Regions from separate parts of the Homo sapiens genome. Here region 1 is linked to region 2. The links are contacts of gene promoters, found by promoter capture Hi-C in blood cells and fetal thymus (Javierre and others, 2016). All regions are on one chromosome and are shown on one strand. Each heading gives the region's core, a stretch centred on a gene start or on the middle of the fragment in contact. The rest is flanking DNA. Distances are from core to core; before and after follow the strand shown. Region 1 overlaps LINC01234 (long intergenic non-protein coding RNA 1234). Region 2 holds the start of LHX5 (LIM homeobox 5).

Region 1 (3,541 bases), core at 155-2,654, 270 kb after region 2:
GTGAGGCTGCCGGGGTGCAAATTCCAGCTCAAGCTTGAGCAAGCCCTTAGTGTCTTTTTATTTCTGTTTCCTCACCTGTAAAATGGGAAGAATCATAGTAAGTCCCTCATCAGGTTACTGTGAGAGTGAAATGAATTAACATGCATGCAAAGCTCTTAGACCACTATCTGGCACGTCTGAATCTTGTGGAAGTGCAAGCTGTTTTTATTATTACAGCAGTGTCCCCTGACCTGAGGGGGATACATTTCAAGACTTTTAGTGGATGCTTAAAACCATGGATAGTAATACACAGATGGTCCCCAACATATGATGGTTAGACTTATAATTTTCTGACTTTACAATGGTGTGAGAGTGATATGCATTCAGCAGAAAACATACTTACAGTACCCATACAACCATTCAATTTTTTACTTTAAGTACAGTATTCAATATATAAGAAGAAGCTGGGCACAGTGGTTCACGCCTGTAATCCCAGCACTTTGGGAGGCCAAGGTGGGAGGATCACTTGAGGCCAGGAGTTCAAGACCACCCTGGGAAACAGTACCTCGTCTCTACAAAAATAAAAATTAAAAGATTAGCCAGGTGTGGTGGCACGCACTTGTATCCTAGCTACTCAGGAGGCTGAGGTGGGAGGATGGCCTGAGCCCAGGAGTTCAGGGTTGCAGTGAGCTATGATCATGCCACTGCACTCCAGCCTGAGTAACAGAGCAGCCTGTTACTCAGAAAAAAAAAAATTAAAATTAAGAGATGAGATATTCAGTGCTTTGTTAGAAAATAGGTTTTGTGTTAGACGATTTTTTTTCAACTGTAGGCTAGTGTAAGTGTTTTGAGGATGTTTAAGGTATGCTAGGCTAAGCTCTGATGTTTGGTAGGTTAGAGGTATTAAATGCATTTTCAACTTAAAGATCTTTTCAACTGAACGAAGGGTTTATCAGGACATAACCCTATTGTGAGTTGAGGAGCATCCGTACTGTTTTTTCCTATACACACATGCCTGTGGTAAAGCTTAATTTATAAATTAGGCACAATAAGAGACTAACAACAATAACGAATAAAATACAACAATTGTAACAATATACTGCGATAAAAGATACGTGAATGCGGCCTCTCACTTTCTCAGAATATCTTAGCGTACTGTATTGTACCATGGGTAAAGGGGACTACTGAACATGCTAGCTATTGGTTTTACTTTCCTCGATGCTGCAGTTCTTTGGGAGCTTGAGGTTTCACCTGCAAAATGGGGATAATAGCAGTTTATCTACCTAATAGGTGAGGATTAAAAGAGATAATGTAGGGAGATAATGTATATTCAGGGCAACTTGAATCTATGTTCCTGGGCAAAAACATTATTTTTAATAAGACAGATAATGTATGCAAAATGCCGTCTTAGTCCATTTTCTGCCGCTATAACAGAATACCACAGACTGGGTAATTTATAAGGAAAAGACATGTATTTCTCAGTTCTGGAGGCCGGAAGTCCAATAGCAAGGTGCCAGCATCTGGTGAGGGGCTTCTTGCTGTGTTATCCCATGGTGAAAGGAGGAAGCACAAGCTAACATGAGAGACAGACAGCAAGAGAAAAGGGGGGTCCACTACTGCGATAAGGGTATTAATCCATTCACGAGGGCAGAGTTCTCATGACCTGATCATCTCTTAAAGTTCTCACCTTGCAACACTGTTGCAATGGCAATTAAATTTTAGCATGAGCTTTGGAGGGGACATTCAAACCACAGCAAATGCTTATCTCAGGTGTGGTGCTTAGCAGGCACACAATATACTCGTAGTGATGATTATCTGTTCACGCAAGCTTGTGTTGGAATAATTAAGGTATTTGACTTCTCCGTCCTCCAGAGGAGGTTCATAGTGACATACATGGTAACAAATATGTATCATAGGTGCTGTAACTACATAAAACAAAGGCACATGGGTCTGGGCAGCTAGGATAGATAATTCCAGCCTCATCTACATCTACTCTTCACGCAGAGGAGACATCCTGGCACCTCCATGCCTTTGTGCTGGTAGGATTTTCCTCGCTGTATTCATTTCCTAGGGCTGTCATGACGGAATGTTACACACTAGGTACCTTAAAATAACAGATGTTTATCATTTCACTGTTCTGAAGGCCACAAGTCCAAAATCAAGGTGTTGGCAGAGTTGATTCCTTCTGGAGGCTCTAGTAGAGAATCAGTTCTCTGCTGTCTCTCTTTTCAATTTCTTTTCTCATTTCTCTTATTTCTATATGCATTAAGACTCAATCTGGCTTAATGCCAAAGGGTATTTATGAACTCAAGTAACTGCAAAGTCCAGGAGATCGTGGTGGCTTCAGGTGCAGCTGGACCCAGGGGCTCAAATGATATTTTCAGGCATCTGCTCTCCCACCATCTCTTGGCTCTGCTCTTCCCTTATTGGCTTTATTATCAGGCAGGCTCTTCTATCACGGATGCACATATTATCAGTAGCCCAGCAGAAAGAGAGTGCCCCTTTCAGAATAGTTCCAGGCAAAGCCCTGCATGTCACTCCCTTGGTCTGGCTTGAGTCACAGGTCCAGAGTTGAACCAATCACTGTGCATTTGGTTGTCCAGGCTTGAGACCTTCACTCATTTATAACTGGGGGAAGGAGGTAGTGCCTTCAAAGGGAAATGGTTTGAAGTTTCTATACAAAGGGGGAAGGTATGATGAGCTTGCCAAAATACTGACTATTCTCCCCACTCTCCTTCCTTTCCTCTGATTCCACCTCAAATGCTGAGCTGGACTCATGATGTGTGCAGAGACCCTGAGTCCTGGGTGTTCTCCAAGAGCACATGCTAAGTGGTGGGTGGGGTGAGAAGAGACAAGCGTTTGAAAGGTGAGATGTCAGGGCAGAAGAAGACCACTCAGCACCAAGAGTTTCTTTTCAGGGAATAAAAATGTTGAGACTTGAGGCCATCATGTCCACTGCCTTAGTAGTATAAATGGAGAAACTGAGACCGAGGAGGTGAAGGGACTTGCTTGGGGTACCCTGTGAGTCAGTGGCAGAGCAAGAAGCAAAACATTCATCTCAGATTCCTGGGCTGGTCTTCATTCCCCCACACACTTGCATGGTCAGATGGGTGGTTGTTTTGTGGGATGTAGCTACCTGCTTGCAGGAGACTCTGGAGATGGTGCCCAAGAAGAGATGCCATTTTGGATGGACACTGAAGGATGAGTAAGCTTTTGCCAGGGTAGAAGGAATGGAACCCATACATCCAAATCCATACATCCTTCCATTCTCCCTCCTTCTCTTCCTTCCTTTCTCTCCCTCTCTCTTTCATTTGATTCTCCCTCCAGCCCTCCCTCTGGTGTGACTTCGGAGGGAGTGATCCTGGCTAGCACCTGGGAAGAGAGGGAAGAATTTGTTACAGCATCCAGGACTGAACCCATGAGAGCCTGAAATGGAGGGGTAGTGGTGAGACCAGAAGTCATAGCGTTCAAAAGCTTCCCAAGAAATGCAGGTGTCCAAGCATGGAGGGTGCAGCTTCCCATGAACAAAAACAAAACAAAACAACAGCCTCAAAACCAGGAA
Region 2 (3,331 bases), core at 5-2,504:
CCCCAAACTCCAGTGGCTTCCAGGCTGGGGAAACTGAGGCCCAGAGAGGTGATCTGCCCTGGCCAGCCACAGGGCCCACAGGGGTAGGGGGGCTGGGGAGGTGCCACAGCCCAGTCTAGACCCCAGAGGTCCTGATTCTCAGCCTCGATTTCGTTTCTACTTTTCAACATGGGAGGAAATGTTTAAGGGGTTGGGAGGTGGGTGGGGGAGGTTCTCTCCTCCCATCACCAGGGGAGACCTTCCTCGCTGGGCCCCCTCTGGAGCTGAGAAGTTTCTGTTTGGGATTGCGGCCGATGGGCTCACACATTCTGCCTGGAGCGAGAAGCCTTCAGGCGTCTCTAACTCATGCAAAAATCCTTCCTCTCTCTCGGGACGGGGCTTGAAGCTTCTGTCTTGGGGTTGCAGCTGCTTGGAAGGGGCGGAGAGGAGTGGATAGCAAGTTTGTCAGGGCTTCCTCCCTCTGCCCCGCCAGCGCTCTGAGCCGGCCTCGAGCCAACGTGAGGCAGCGAAGCAGCGTCCTTCTTCCTCCGCCTGGGCTCGGGACCTTTCCTGGACCAAGGACAGGAGGAGAGCAAAGTGCTGCCCGCTCCCCATCTAAGCTTGTGATCCGGGGAGGCTGGGATGGGGATGGGGGTATCCCCTTCCCCAGCGCCCCAGTGGAGCGCGCGCAGGGTGGGCGCGCAGGCAGCAGAGCGGCGCGGCCTCTTACCTGAAAAAGTCATTTTTGCAGTAGAGCTTGCCCTCGCGCGAGAAGCACTTCTCCGAGAGGTTGGTTTTGCACTCGCAGCACTGAACACATTTGATGTGCCACGCGCGGTCCAGCACGTTCAGCAGAAAGCGGTCGAGGATGGGCCGCTCGCAACCGGCGCAGTGCACCATCATAGCCCCGCGCCCCGGCGGCTTCGGCCGCCTTGCCCTCCCTTTGGGCCCCTGGCCCTCGGGCCTGCCGGGCCCTCCGCTGCCCTTCGCCTCTTGTCTCAGCAGCTGCAGGGCGAGTCTGGTCCGGACCAAGACTCAGCCGGTCCAGTCCTTGGGCAATCTCTGGCCTGGCGCTGGGCTGCCCGGAGTGGGGTGGTGGGGGGCGGGTGGCGTTCACAACCTCATGCCACGGGCCGCACGCCCCGGCGCCTGTTCCGGGCTTCCCCAGGTATCTCGGGTGGCTGCTGGCCTCGGCGCTGCGGAGCGGCTTTCCCCGGTGGCGGAGGCGCCGGCACTTTCCCCCACTTTCAAGCGGTCCGGATCCTCATCTTTGTCTGGTCGCCGCGTAATTCGCGCATCCTTATTCAGATTTGGTGACGTGGCGCTGCACGTAGGGGGCCCAGCGGCCAATGGGCGCACCGTGGCCATGGCAACCTCTTAAATTTATAGCATATCTAAATTGGCTACAGCGTTGCTGTCCGGACAGAGCAAAAAAAACAAGGCATCAGTATTGTTGAGTATTAGCTTGTACCTGGTTCGGAGGCTAAGTAAGTATTTACCTTCCAGTTTGGGGCTGACGGGGCGGGGGCAGCGCGAAACGAAAATTGCGTCTCTCTTCCTCTCTCTTTCTCCTCACAAATATTTGGGGGTCACGGGTTCCAAGGCCTAGTCCGGGAGGTACCCCTGCCCCCTTCGCCATCCCTGGAACTTGCAGAAGTTGCCCCACGCCCCACACTTCGCTCCCCTTCTCCAGCCCAGCCAGCCCAGATTGGATTCCCCCACCCCCGCGCCCCCTCTGCGCCCTGAAGCTGCGTCAGCGCGGTTCTCCCGGCTCCTGGAGCCGGCCCCGGCTTCTTTTTGTCATACACGGGGCTGGGGCCCAGCCGGGCCTTTCTCATGGAGAGAGCTAGTGGAGACCGCGCGGCCTGGGTAGTTTTCCCCGCCCGGCCGCCGAGCCCAGGCCCAGGCCCAGGGTGGGGAGGCGGGGGAGCAGGAGGGGTGCCATTTGGCCTGGTCCCGAACTCCAGAGTTTCAGGCCTGAGTGCGCTGCTCACGGGGCTCTGAGGGAGATGTGGACAGGGGGAGATTCAGGGTGGACGGGTCTTCCCGCAGACAGCTCGGAGGTGGCACTCACCACGTCTCTCCTTTCCTCGCTGCACCTTCCAGATTCCAGGTCAGCCTATGGGGCACTGTGGTGAGTGGGTCGTACGGCTGAGGCGGGGGACACCAGCGACTATGAGAGCGCTGTTTGTATTCACGCCGTGCGGGCTGGGTGTGCAAGTTCGTCCCCTCATTGGGCGCAGGAGAAGCGGCGCACGTATGTTCCGTGCTCGGCAGGGCGCCCAGAGTGTGAGGAGAGAGAGTGTGTGTGTGTTAAGGGGGAGGGGGGATGTTGGCAGGTGTGCGTGAGGAGGGGGTGTGTGGGTCTGAGTAGGAGAAGGGACCAGGCCTCCTTTCCCCTGGGGCCAGCGTGGCCACCAGGGATCCTAGTTGGGGAAGCCGGGAATGGGCAACCAGGATTTGCCTTTCGCTTCTGGAAAGGGGGCTGAGGGAGTAGGGCCTGGGACCAAGGGCTGGAGCTGGAGGGGTTTGTGCCAGCACTTGGCTGTGAATGTTTGTTTGGGTGTGTTTCCTGAGCTTGTTAGTGTATACTCGCTGTTTGAGAATTCCATTTTTGCATCTGTTTATTGTGTTAGTACCATCAATCCTGTGAGTAAATTTCTGCGTGTGCGTTTTCGTGTGTGCAGATTCGTGTGTTTGTAATTGTGTATGGTCCTGCTAATGTTTGTGTTTATCACTGTGTGCACTTTTATTTTTGTTGGTCTGTGCCTATGTGTGTTTGCTTATTTGAGGATGCATAAATGTGAGGGTGTTTTCATGTGTACGTGTGCATTCACGTAAGAGTGTTTGTGTCTGTGTTTGCAAGCATTGATGTGAAGGTGTACTTTGAAAAATCTGAATGTGTGTGTTTGTGTGTAGGTGAGGGCGTGCATGCTTGAGACCCTGTGTGTATGAGACTGAGCTGGCTTGGTTGTGTTTGTGAGTGCAGAATTCTGAAGAGCTATGTTTGTGTGCCAGTCGCTGTGTGTGTGTGCCTGCAAATGTGTGTATTTGTGCAAACAGTAGTTTTTTGTTTATGCAACTCCTGTAGGCTTTTGTGTGTGTGTGTGTATGTGTGTGTGAGGGGGTTATGTTTGTATTTGTGTTTGTGTGTGTACTCCTAGCTGCGCTTACCTTTGTGGATTCGGAGGTTGAGGGAGCAGGATTTGTGGATGCCTGTGTTGGGGCTCAGGGATGCCCACTTGTCCCCCTTCCTCTCAGGCCTAGCACTGTCCCCCACAGTATCTAGGGGAGGTGATCTTGCTAGGGACAGGGAATTGGTGAGTGCTGGTTACAGAGTGGAGCATTGACT

What was found. Contacts are between HindIII fragments. The CHiCAGO score rates a contact against its expected background, and 5 or more counts as called.
Region 1: a contact is called between a fragment that was not itself captured here and the fragment with the promoter of LHX5 in region 2, in 1 of 17 cell types (megakaryocytes). The highest score is 5.1, in megakaryocytes.

What each region holds. Positions count from the first base shown.
Region 1 is chr12:113,743,245-113,746,785 of GRCh38, forward strand. It overlaps LINC01234 (long intergenic non-protein coding RNA 1234), which reads right to left. Exons shown (of 3, transcript NR_110026.1): 3 at 1,333-3,351. Among named protein-coding and RNA genes, the nearest start is that of LINC01234, 29 kb to the right of the region's middle. The HindIII fragment of the contact is 802 bases long and covers 1,004-1,805 here.
Region 2 is chr12:113,470,617-113,473,947 of GRCh38, forward strand. LHX5 (LIM homeobox 5) reads right to left here and starts at 1,255. Exons shown (of 5, transcript NM_022363.3): 1 at 710-1,255. The coding sequence starts at 882. It overlaps LHX5-AS1 (LHX5 antisense RNA 1), which reads left to right and starts at 1,387. Exons shown (of 2, transcript NR_126425.1): 1 at 1,387-1,466. RefSeq lists an enhancer at 337-1,137. The HindIII fragment of the contact is 6,712 bases long and covers 598-3,331 here.